3 separate regions of the Homo sapiens genome follow, and regions 1 and 2 are each linked to region 3. The links are contacts of gene promoters, found by promoter capture Hi-C in human tissues and cell types (Jung and others, 2019). All regions are on one chromosome and are shown on one strand. The core of a region is centred on a gene start or on the middle of the fragment in contact, and the rest is flanking DNA. Distances in the headings are between cores, read along the strand shown.

Region 1 (4,117 bases), core at 464-2,963, 150 kb before region 3:
GGAGTAAAGTGTAAATTTTGTAATTTGGTTTAGCAGAATAGACAGGGTAAGTAGGGCTAAAATTATCAGGTTATTAATTAGTAGAAAGTTAACACACACATCAAATTTATTCTACTATAAATTAAGAGCCACAATTGTTTAAGCAAAAAGTGAAATAAAAATACTATGATAAACACATTGGTATCTTAAGCTATGGAGTGCCCAGGAAATACCTTGTCCTTTTAATACAAGGAATATCTGAGAATTAATTCTGTAAATTAATTTACATTCCAGTATAAACTGCCTTTGTAAGAAAAGCCTAAGCTTTTCATTGTATAATTGTCCTGAAGAGCACTGATACACTAAGGAGAGTATAGGCTTAGGCACCGGGTTGCGGCCTAGCCAAATAAGAAGGGGGCTTTTGAGGGGACTTCTCTAAACTGAACTGCCTAAGATTCTAAAAGGGAAATAATCACACAAGGGAAGCTTCTATAGTGGAAACAATCACCTTTGTGCATAAGGGTCTTCTGAGGATAAAAATAAAGCAGCTCTAAGAAAGTGTGTGTGTGCATGTGTGTGTGTGAGAGAGACATAATTAACACTAAACATTACACTAAAGGATTAAGGTTTTCCCTGTAAGTACTGATGTCTGTATAGTGTGCTATTAAAATAATGTGGTAGTACATTTTTAAAAACCTCTTTTTTCTTCAAAATAAATTGCCACATTTCTATAATTCTGGTAGCTCATAAAGTAATAAATCTGGAGACTTAAGCCTCACTATATGGGTGATTTAAATACACATTTTACAATTTTTTAACAGGAAAATTCATCAGTTTCTTTGAAAGAATAATTAACATTTAAAAATAGCTATGCAACTACTTTTTTAATTTAAAAAGCAGAACCTCTATTGATCAATTGCTCAAGTATTTCTATCTTCTAATATGTATATCTAATTGAGATCTATATCTACTTATCACTTCAGAGAAGCTTAAGATATCTATCAAATTAAGATATATGTATAATTAAGATATGTTGCTAATGAAGATAGATATCAGGATATATATGTATGTGTGTGGATATGTGGATGTGTGTGGAACTTTGGATAAATATCTTTATTAAAATTGAAAACAACGTTCCAGAATTTACATAAGCATCTACAAAAAATACTCTGATATTTAGATATTTAGCTATAAAGAAAAGTCTCTTGCTTAAAATAATTTTAAATCTGTACAATGGGACGATTCTCAATTTGTTTGTTTCATAGACTTTTTTTTCATGAATCCTTAAAGATATTACCAAATAGAGTGCCTCCGCCTGGTTCCCGCACCGCCTGGGAAGTGAAGAGCGCTTCTGCCGGGCCACCCCCCACCACCACCTCCCTCGGTCTGGGAAGTGAGGGTCGCCTCTGCCCGGCCGCCCCACCGTCTGGGAAGTGAGGGGGGCCTCCGCCCGGCCCCGCGCAATGTCTGGGAAGTGAGGAGCGCCTCTGCCTGGCCACCTCTCCCCGCACCTCCCTCGGTCTGGGAAGTGAGGGGCGCTGCTGCCCGTCCGCTGCACCATCTGGAAAGTGAGGACCGCCTCTGTCCCGTCGCCGCCCCGTCTGGGAAGTGAGGAGCACCTCTGTCCCGTCGCCCCATCATCTGAGAAGTGATGAGCGCCTCTGCCTGGCCGACCCACCGTCTGGGAAGTGAGGAGCGCCTCTGCCCGGCCTCCTCACCATCTGAGAAGTGATGAGCGCCTCTGTCCGGCCGCCGACCCGTCTGGGAAGTGAGGAGCGCCTCTGCTTGGCTGCCCCACCATCTGAGAAGTGATGAGCGCCTCTGTCCAGCCGCCGCCCCGTCGGGGAAGTGATGAGCGCCTCCCCCGGCCGCCCCACCGTCTGAGAAGTGAGCAGCGCCTCTGCTTGGCCGCCCCACCATCTGAGAAGTGATGAGAGTCTCTGCTTGGCCGCCCCACCATCTGAGAAGTGATGAGCGCCTCTGCCCAGCCGCCACCCCGTCTGGGAAGTGATGAGCACCTCTGCTTGGCCGCCCCACCGTCTGAGAAGTGATGAGCGCCTCTGCCCCGCTGCCGCCAGGTCTGGGAAGTGAGGAGCACCTCTGTCTGGCCACCACATTGTCTGGGAAGTGAGGAGCGCCTTTGACTGGCCACTGTGCAACCCTCCAAGTGTGAAGTGGCAGCCTTGTGTGTGATCTTTATGCCCTCCCCAGGTTTGCATTTTGACATTAAAGTTTACTTTTAAATTAAAAAAAAAAAATAGCAATTACAGTCAAGAAAAAAATACAATAACTCACCAAGAACAAATGTAATTTTTCTCATGTATACACAGTTGGTTTAACATCCGAAGGTTAACAAATGTAGTATTATATAAATGTAACGTATCTAAGCATATTACCTAAATGTAATAAAGAGAAAAACTGTAAGATTATCTTAGTAGAGGAAGAAAAAACATTTAACAAGATTCAGCACCATTCATGATTTAAAAAAAAATGTAATGAGAAATGGAGGAAAACGTCTTTAACCTGATAAAGCGTATCTATGAAAAATGTAAAACTAACTTCATATTTAATGATGAAAAACAGAATGTTTTCTCCTGAAATTGGGAAAAAGGCAAAGAATGTCCACTCTCACCGCTGCAAGTATAGCAAGACAAAAAAGAAATAAATGAAAGGCACATGTTAGAATGGAAGTAACAATAGTGCATTTATTTGCATATGACATGGTGTATGTAGAAAATCTTAAAGAACCTAATATAAAGCTTCCTAAAGCTAATGAGTCTAACACATTCTCAAGATATAAACTAACATGCAAAAATCAATTTTATTTTATACACCAGAAATAAACAACCTGACAATAAAATCAAATTTTAATTAACTACAGCATATACCATAAAAAGAAAAACTCTTACAAATAAATTTAACAAAAAGATGTGCAATGTCTGTGAACTGAAAACTCTAAAGCATTGCTTTAAAAAGTTAAGGCTTATCTAAATGGAAATATATACTTTTTTATTAATTTGAAAATTCACCATTTTTAAGAGGTCAATTCTTCCAGAATTGACTATAAATTGAATACATTCAGAATCAAAATCCTAGCAGTCTCTATATAAGAATTTGACAAGCCAATGTTAATATTTGTAAGGAAAGGCAAATAATCTAGAAAAGCTTAAAAATTTTTTTAAGAAAAAACAAAATCAGATGAATCAAATTAGCTGGTATTTAAGATTTACAATAAAAGCACTCTAAGGAGTATGAGATTGGCATAAGGATTGACATAAAGATCAACTAAAAGGAATTTTGAGTCCAGAAATATACCCACAATTATTATATTGTAGATGGGTTTTCAACAAAGATACCAAGGAAATTCAATGAAATGAAGATCGTGTTTTCAATAAATGGATTTAGAATAAATGAATATAAATATAGAAAAAAAACTTTGACCCTTTCCTCATACCATACACAAAAAGTATACAAACCTGATTATCAACTTAAATATAAGAGGTAAAACTATAAAGCTTTTAGAAGAAAATCTGGGAGAAATCTTTATCAATTTCCTCAATACCAACCATAGAATATTGTATTACAAATGTAAACACTTTAGTTCTTTAAGAAAAATCATGGATATGCAATACTCTGGTGTCTCTTCATAAACTAATAATGTTTCATTTACGTTTTCCACTAAGTATGACCAGCGATTCTACTGAAATTTAGAGACCTGCACCATGTTAATCTTTCTTAACCTTTCACTTAAACTTTCATGCCAATAAACCAACACTTCTGCACATTATCAACATGAAGATTTGTACTGCTGTTACAGTCCAGGAGACTGAGAATGCTGAATATAAAATTAATTTTCCTTATCTCTAAGTCATATATTTTATTTGTAGTATTTTTGAAGAGGGTATTTGAAATATTTAAAAAATTCTAATCTGCAGTTTTAAAAAATGACAAGACCATATGAATTATGATGATAAAAATGGAAAGACAGTTACTAAAAATAGTTGCTTCTCTGTTCATCTTGACAAACAGATGCAACACTTTGACAGCTAATCAACACAGGTTTTCTTTTTTTCATACTATATCTATCATGTTCTGGAATGACCTATTAATTTTAATTGCTTTGCTAGGCTCCCATTTA
Region 2 (3,970 bases), core at 333-2,832, 190 kb before region 3:
GAAAAGATAAAATTTTAAGGTGATGGATATCTCAATTACCCTGATTTGTCCTTCACATATTATATATTATATAAATTATGAAATTATCACTTGTATCCCAAAAATATGTACATGTATTACATATCAATAAAAAGGCATTATAAATTTATTAGAAGGCAGCACGTCATAGTGGTAAAGAGTATAGGCTCAGGTTCAAGTATTGGAACCATTAACTGTTTATCTTTAGGCAAGCTATTTAAAATTCCACTGGCTGTTTTTTATATATAAAGTAACGCTAACAGTAATGCCTGTTAGAGCTTTATATAAATGAAATGAGATGATACAGGCAAAGTGCTTACAAGACTGCTTGGAGCATAGTTTACAACAAAAAATTATTTCTGTAAGAATGAATTTTTAGAAATTGTTCTAAAATATTACCTATGAGATATACATATTAGTGGCAAAAAGATGCAGAAAAAATCAAAAAGAAAGAGAAGAGAAAAATTATAAAATAAGAAAATAATAATAACTAATTGACAATTGTGGTGGCAGTTAAAATACCAGTCAAGGCTGGGCATGGTGACTCACGCACCCCAATAAATCCCAGCACTTTGGGAGGCTGAGGCAGGTGGATCGCTTGAGGCCAGGAGTTCAAGACTAGCCTGGCCAAGATGGTGAAACCCTTTCTGAACTAAAAATATAAAATTAGCCTGGCATGGTGGCTCGCACCTCTAGTCCCAGCTACTCGGGAGGCTGAGGCAGGAGAATCTCTTGAATCCGGAAGGTGGACGTTGCAGTGAGCCGAGATTGTGCCACTGTACTCCAGCCTGGGTGACAGAGTGAGACTTTGTCTCAAAAAATAAAATAAAATAAATAAAATATCAGTTAAAATACAAAGTAGGACAACAAGTAAATTGAAAGCAGCAATGAAGGACAATATATAATACTACGAAAGATAATAAGTGAAAAGTCCATAATAATCATATTATGAGTCTATCTATACTTGAAATACAAAAAAGCAGAAATCATCACATCTATAGGAAAAATAGATTCATAAACAATTGTTCATGAACAATTGTGATTGGGATTTTAAAAGAGAAAACTTAGAAACTGATAAAGAAAAAAGAATAAGAAAAATTCTAGAACTTTTGAATAAGATGGCTCATAAACTTAATAGATATATGCCTAATTTTATATCAGACAAGGAGAAAAGACATGTTAAGTACACATGGAATATACACAAAAGTCAATGCTGAATGAACTCTCAAAGGAAGCCTCAATAAACTTCAAAACATCAATATCATACATATTATGTATGATATATTTTTCACTGATCAAGTGAAAAATAATTAGATCAATGAAGAAAATAGTTAAAAATGGACATATTTGTATCCTAAAACACTTATGACCAGATGAACTTGGGTCAAAATGGTAATGGTATGGGGGAATAAGGAACAATTTAGAGCTAAGTGACAATTAAAAACCTATATATCAACAATTGAGGGCATAGCTCAATCAAGAAATTTATGGAAAAATTACAGCTTTCAATGGATCTATCAGACCACAAGAGGAAGTGAAAACAAGTTAGATATTATAAAAAACATAAAAAATACTATAATAAAGCCAAAAATAAAAAGAAAATAAAAAAATTAAAGGCAGCAATCAGTGAAATAAAAAAGAAACATTAACCAGTCAAAAAGATGAGGAAACCAAAAATTGATTATTTGAAAATACTAAAAGTTAGATAACCTCTGTTAATACTTATTTTTCAGTGTCTATGGGAGGGCAATAGACCAAATAAATATATTATAGAATTTGAAAGGGAAATATCTCCAGGTATTAATGCTATAATAATAAACTACTGTTTTGTGCATCCATATGCCAATAAATTTAGAAATCTAAAACAGAATACATTTCTAGAAAAATATAAAATGCCAAAACTAGTAATATTAGCCTAATGAATAGACAATGACTATTAAAAATTGAAATATAAATTAAATATATTCCTTTCCACCAAAATAGTACAAGGCTCTGATAGTTTTACAAAGAATTCTAGCAAGCTTTCAAGGAACAGATAAGCTAAACTGGATAACTAAAAACAGAAAATTGTATAGGCATTTCTCAGGTGTGAAAAAAATCCAGATTAATTAAATTAGCTTTTATATCTCAACAATTTACAAAAATATATCATGTTCAATAGAGAATATAATGATTTAATATCAGAACATCTATCAATACAAGTCATCAAATTAACAAAATAATAGACAAATGTATATGATTTTCCCAAATGCAAAAAAAGGGGGATGAAATTCAGTCTGATAATCAAAGTCTGGGAAACTTAAAAGTACAGAGAAATCCCTTAACTTGATAAGGAGAATTTATCAAAACCCCACACAACACAATGGGGTGATTTGGTACATATTTTTTAAAGGAGGGGATGAGATAAAGATGTTTCTTATCAATGTTTTTAATTAGATTTGATTTTTTTCTATATTGTACTAAAGATCCTAGAAAATGTAATAAGAAAATAAAATAATAGGAATAGATAAAAATTATTAATTACCAATATATGTTCATCTACAAAGCAAATCTAATGTAGTTAACAGGCACATTCTTAAAAATTATAAGGTAGTTCTGGGAAGTTGTTTGATATGAGATTAATTTTCAAAAATTTACCTATACCAGGCATAATCAAGTAAAAAATAAAATTAAAAATAAGATAATATTAAAACTCACAAGATAAAATATTTAGGAATTACAATAATAGTTGTGTAAACAATGCACAAGACATTATAGAGAATATTTTAGATTTTCAAGCTTTAGTAATTCCACTTACAGATATAAAAACTTGAAGAAATAAAGTTACACTCTTTTCCCTGATAGACAATTCAACATTGTAAAGATGTTAATTCTTTTCAAAGACATCTATAATGAAGACTTAGGAAAAACAGCTGATCTTATCAGATATGAAGGCATACCGAAAAACAAAATAAAATAAAACAAAATCCCACAGCTATATAGTAGTAAAAATAGCATATTATCTCTTAAAATCAGTAATATTATCTCCTACTTCTTTAAAAATAATAAAAAGCTTAGCCCTTTGAATCAATAAGACCTAATATTCCTGGAGAATATTTATATTCAAAACTATAGATGTCATGAAAAGCAAGAGGTAAAACAAAGTAGAAATAGGATAGCAAACAAATAAAACAAAAAACCAAGGTGAATGTTGATTAAGTAGCACCAGATGAAGCCTTCAAAATGGAGGCGGGTAACATGGCAGCACAAGACAGGTTCCGCATTGAGGATGATTTTGAGGATAAAATTTGAAAAAACCATGGCAGTCGAAACAAATTAGGATATTCGGAACAGCAGCTTTGAGCAGACATTCATCACCCTGCACTGAATAAACTCTTGCAATAGCCAGAAAACAGATCTACTTGCCTCTGGCAGCCCATGGCTACATTAATCTTTCTGGAACACTGCATGCCAAGGTCTTTCATTGACATCTGTATTTCACAGTCGTTAGCTCTCTCTTGAAGAAAAAAAAAAATAAAGAAGAAGAAGAAAAAGAAGGAAGGAGGGGAGTGAGTATGGTCGTTAGAGAGTTAATGAAGAGCAAGAGATTTGGGTTTTTTGGTAACAAAAACTTGAGAATCAACATGTACACAGGTCGCAGGGACACTAGCCAGTGTTTCAAGATGAAGGACATATAATGGCAATGAAGGAAATGGGAAAGATCTGATGAAGAGCAGAGTTAGACATGATGACCTATGACAAGAGGAGGGAACTTTTATTTTCTAAGACTGAGGAAAAGTGACATACGTGCTAATATATTGGTTAAATTGATTCTTTCCATATCTACTAACAAAAATGCTCTCATTTCAGCAGCAAATTTTGTCTGAATCTTGACCAGCTTTTCATCCCCAGTGAAGCTTGGACAAGAATCCTTTGATTGGTAATAATTTATGAACAAGAGCAGAGAAGTCAT
Region 3 (4,101 bases), core at 980-3,479:
GTATTATCAAAAATTCAGCAAATATGTTTCAGCTCCTAATATGAGCTCTAAGAACTTGCAGAGTTTGTAAAGATCACTAGTACTATGGTCCCTACCCTCAAGTTGCTTACAATCTAGTGGTGAGAAATATGTGTAAATAACTTAAAATTATTTAAGAGTGTATCAAATGTTTTATAACAGAGGAAAAAGCGAAGTGCTATGAGATTATAGGAATATAAGGGATTTTACCTGGAGCACCAAGGAAGACTTCATTAAAAAATGGAATTTTAAGATAAGCTTTGACAAATAAGTTGCATTTGTATCAACTAAGAAAGTGGAAAGAAGGGGCATGCTTGGCTGATGGATGAAATCTCAAAAACATTATCATCACAATGCCTGTTAAGAAAATCATAATTGCATTGATAAATCTGCTACATAAAAACCTTACTTGTTATTTCCATGTAAAATAGAAATTAGGCATTATAGATTATGCAATCCAGCATGCCTATCTATAATCTTACATTGAATCAAGGGTTGACTCAATGTTTAGTCAGTTTTTCCAACTTATAAGCCATGTCCATTTCTGAAAACCAAAATACAAATCAAGCTCCTGCCTTCTTTTCTTAGTGAAAGAAAACATTCATATTGTTTTAAATTTTTAAAATTTTTTTCAAGAAACTATAAAATATGTTTGATTCAAGTATTTCACAAGACAGAAGGCACTATCCAATAGGCTTAAAAAGTCACTGATTTCAAACCTACGAATACATAAATTATGCATGCATTATGTGAACAATGAAGGGCACATCCAAAGTGAGGTTTTCATGGGAGACTGGAACACTGAGGCAAGAGAAAAGTGAAAACATTCTAAAGCCTTCATGTAAACAAGGACTAACTACTAAAAAGCACGATTTTATCCCTCAGTTAATAAGTCTTGCAAGGGATGACATTACTAAGTAAAGTTCATTGCAAGCTTTTTCCTCTCACTTGTCAAAATATACTAGTTTATATTTGTGACTCGAAAAAAAATACAATGCTTGGAAGAAAGCTTGGCAGAGCACTCAGAATCTGTCTGAAGTATAACGCAAGGGAGATGTCTATTAATCTCTCACACACAAAAGTCTGACTCAAAAGGTCTGTGGCCTTGACCTCAAGTGACCATGGAATAGACCACAGAGCCAGTCCAGGATCCAAAGGGATTAAGAGGAGCATTTGCTCTGCTCTGAAAGGGCCTTTTTTCCCCACTCTAGTTTCTAACTTCCCATTACACACACTCCCTCTGCAAGGCACCGCGCCAATGGAGCCGGTTCACTCTGTTCTCTCCTTGATGACAGCTGTCAGTCTGTCGCCGCCTGAACATGCAACATTTCAACAAAATCCAAAGCGGAACTGGAAGGGCAGGGGCTGAAGCACACAGCCTGATCTCCTTCCTGGAGGTCCCAGACTCCTTAACCATCACTTTTCAACCTGCTTAAGGTTAGAACCACCTCACTCTTCACTAACAGAGTTGAGGCAGCTTCTGTCTCCTCAGAACCTGGGCATTCCCACACAGTGTAATTAAGCAACATTCCTGGAAATCATCCTAAGAAGAAAGAGCCCGCAAGTCCCCGTGTAACTTCAGCACGAACGCGGAGGGTGCTAAACCAGGTATCGGATCAAGGGGCGGGAAAATCCCTCACTCCGCCGGCTCCTGGCCCCTGGACCGCGTGGCGACGCCCGGCGGGAGCGCGGCGAACCCCAGCGCATGGGACCGGGGGTGAGACCGCGCCCTCCTGCAGGGCAGGGGCGACCTGGCGAGTGCCCGCGGCTGGAGAGCAGTGCGAGCCCAGCCAGGCGGTGGGGAGGGTGGGAGGCGGGCGGAGCGCCCTGTTCACCCGTTCGCCCCTTGCCGGGAGCTGCGGAACCGCAGAGGGAGTCGCAGAGGCCGGTCCTGGAGCAGGGACCTGTCCTGGGGCAGGGGCCCTCGGGGCACTCACCAACTGCAGCGCGCAGAGGCAGATGAGCGAGCAGCGTCCGGTGCAGCAGCCCATGGTGCCGGCGGCGTCCGAGCGGCGCTGACTGCCAGAGATCCTCGTCCTCCGCCGCTGCTGCCTCCTGACTCCGGAGTAGTCCCCGCCCGGCCCGGCCCAGGCTCCTCGGCCCCGCGGCCGCCGCTCGCGGCTCCAGGGCTCGGGGCTCGCGCCCGCCTTTGTTAGTTTCCCGGCGGGGCGGGCCGAGGTCAGTGCGGTGCGCACGACCCGAGCGTCTGGCGGGGGTCCCTGCGTCCCACTGTGCAGGTCTGTTTCTTGGGGAGGGGGAGCCAGGCGGGCGGGGCGGGGGGTTGGAAGGAGGCTACAGATGGCGAGTGGGTGAATGTCTGTTTAGGGGAGGGGAGTATGTAGGAGGTGGGCGTCTGGAAAGTGGAGTGGGCTGTCTGGGTCCGGGTGTGTGTGTGTGTGTGTGTGTGTGGTGGGAAGGGAAGAATGAAAGGGAGTGCCGCTGGGGAGGATCGGCCTGTCTAGTTAAGAGTCTTTGGGGAGAAAGGAAGAGGGACAGAGAGAAAAGAGAATGAATATGAATGAGCGTGAATTAGGGCGGCCGGCGGCGATGGAGACCCTCGTTGACCGGTGTAACTGGGTAGACCCAGCTGGGCTTTCTTGCTGAGGGTTGTGCTGGGGGTTGGGAGGGTGGTCGGACGCGTTTGCAAGGGAGGGGACACGGCTTAGTTGAGCTGCCCCAGAGGTGGCGAGGATGGGAGTTGGGTTAGCTTGGGTTCCGGGGAGGAAGGGCCGGGACGCGAGACACCCAGGGTGGGCGGGCGCCGGGGAGCGCAAGGCCCAGCTCCGGAACCTGCCCGGATGCGAGGGGGCCCGCGGGCGCTGCGCGGGCAAGTCTGTTGAGCCGGCGCTGGGCACGCAGCTCGGGGGTCTCCCATCCGAGCTTGCTTCTGCCCGCCACAGCCGGTTGCCTGGAGGGCGCCCCTGCTGGAGTCTGAAAGGGAAAGTTGGACAGAGTTGGGTGGCAAGGGGCGCTGCGGCGGAGCGATGCACCCGCCCAGGGCGCCGGGACTAGCCAGGACGCCGCGGGGAGACCTGGCTTAAGGTTCTTTTCTCACATACCCTTTGAAATCCTCACCGGGAGGGAGAAAAGAGAAGTCGAGGAAGAAGAAGATGCGTAGCTTTTTCTAGAAATGGAGAAGGTTTCCGGAATAGGTATAAATATATCTTCACAGAAATAAATTGAGAAGGATTTGGAAAGAAGATCTCGGATAGTTAAGATACGGACAAACTCTCTCTGAATCCTGTGGAAACTCTCCTGCTCTCTCCCACCTAATAAAACAGAGCGGAGGCGTTCTGCAGAGGATGAAATTTCATCAGGGCTCAAAGACAGATTTTATGGGCGCATTTGTTGTACCTGGTGGAACTGCGCAAGGAGCTCAAAAGCACACCAGAACAGGGAACAAGCCTGCAGGCCAATTATCTCAGAAAAGGCTGTTTTCAGAATTTGGCACAGAAACCCTGTTTCTAGCCCACTGCTGCCCTCCTGGGTTCTTGGCGGTAGGTTGGTAAGAAAAGGCAAGACATCTTTGCGTTTTTAATACTTCCACTCCAGACATGGAAACTGCTCAAGCCGTTAGTTCAGGCGTTAAAAGCAGTCCTGTTTTTATTTTTATCCTTTCTGAAACGTTTCTTCAGGATCTATGTTTATAATTTAAGACGGTTATCATTCCCAAGGAAGTCTGCACATCTTTGAAATTCTAGTAGGGACACATGAATAACCTCAGGATTTGGGTTATTAAAAGGGTCAAGAACATTCATTGTTTACATTCCACCTCTGATATTATCATGGAGACAGGAGAAGTCCAGTCAGAACTCCTCCTCCTTTTTTAATTCAAGCGTTAAGACATCAGTGATCAAGGATCATGTGAGCACGCTGCCTTTATGCACAATCCACGTACTCGTCATCATTCTTTATGGATGAAAACAATAGAAAAAAATGAACACTGACAAATAAGTAGTTTAGCATGTAGAAAAGGACATTGCAGAACATCTCAGGCCATTGACCCCTCTAAAAGCTGTAGGAAGCAGCTGAAAAGTGAGAGGACATGAACAAGTCTTCTATCTATAACTTCCAGAAATTGTT

The links. The method cuts DNA at HindIII sites, captures the fragments that hold promoters and counts their contacts. A contact is called where the count stands out against the background at its distance.
Region 1: a fragment that was not itself captured here is called in contact with the fragment with the promoter of NKAIN3 in region 3 in 4 of the 25 tissues and cell types used here (IMR-90 fibroblasts, bladder, heart left ventricle and 1 more).
Region 2: a contact is called between a fragment that was not itself captured here and the fragment with the promoter of NKAIN3 in region 3, in 2 of the 25 tissues and cell types used here (H1 embryonic stem cells and hippocampus).

The regions. Positions count from the first base shown.
Region 1 is chr8:62,392,600-62,396,716 of GRCh38, reverse strand. All of the region lies in intron 1 of NKAIN3 (sodium/potassium transporting ATPase interacting 3), which reads right to left. It also overlaps the pseudogene LOC112268028. Among named protein-coding and RNA genes, the nearest start is that of NKAIN3, 150 kb to the right of the region's middle. The HindIII fragment of the contact is 3,212 bases long and covers 108-3,319 here.
Region 2 is chr8:62,440,265-62,444,234 of GRCh38, reverse strand. All of the region lies in intron 1 of NKAIN3 (sodium/potassium transporting ATPase interacting 3), which reads right to left. Among named protein-coding and RNA genes, the nearest start is that of NKAIN3, 190 kb to the right of the region's middle. The HindIII fragment of the contact is 3,821 bases long and covers 1-3,492 here.
Region 3 is chr8:62,246,982-62,251,082 of GRCh38, reverse strand. NKAIN3 (sodium/potassium transporting ATPase interacting 3) reads right to left here and starts at 2,229. Exons shown (of 7, transcript NM_001304533.3): 1 at 1,956-2,229. The coding sequence starts at 2,009. LOC124901952 (a long non-coding RNA gene) reads left to right here. Exons shown (of 2, transcript XR_007060932.1): 1 at 1-1,626. The HindIII fragment of the contact is 6,824 bases long and covers 615-4,101 here.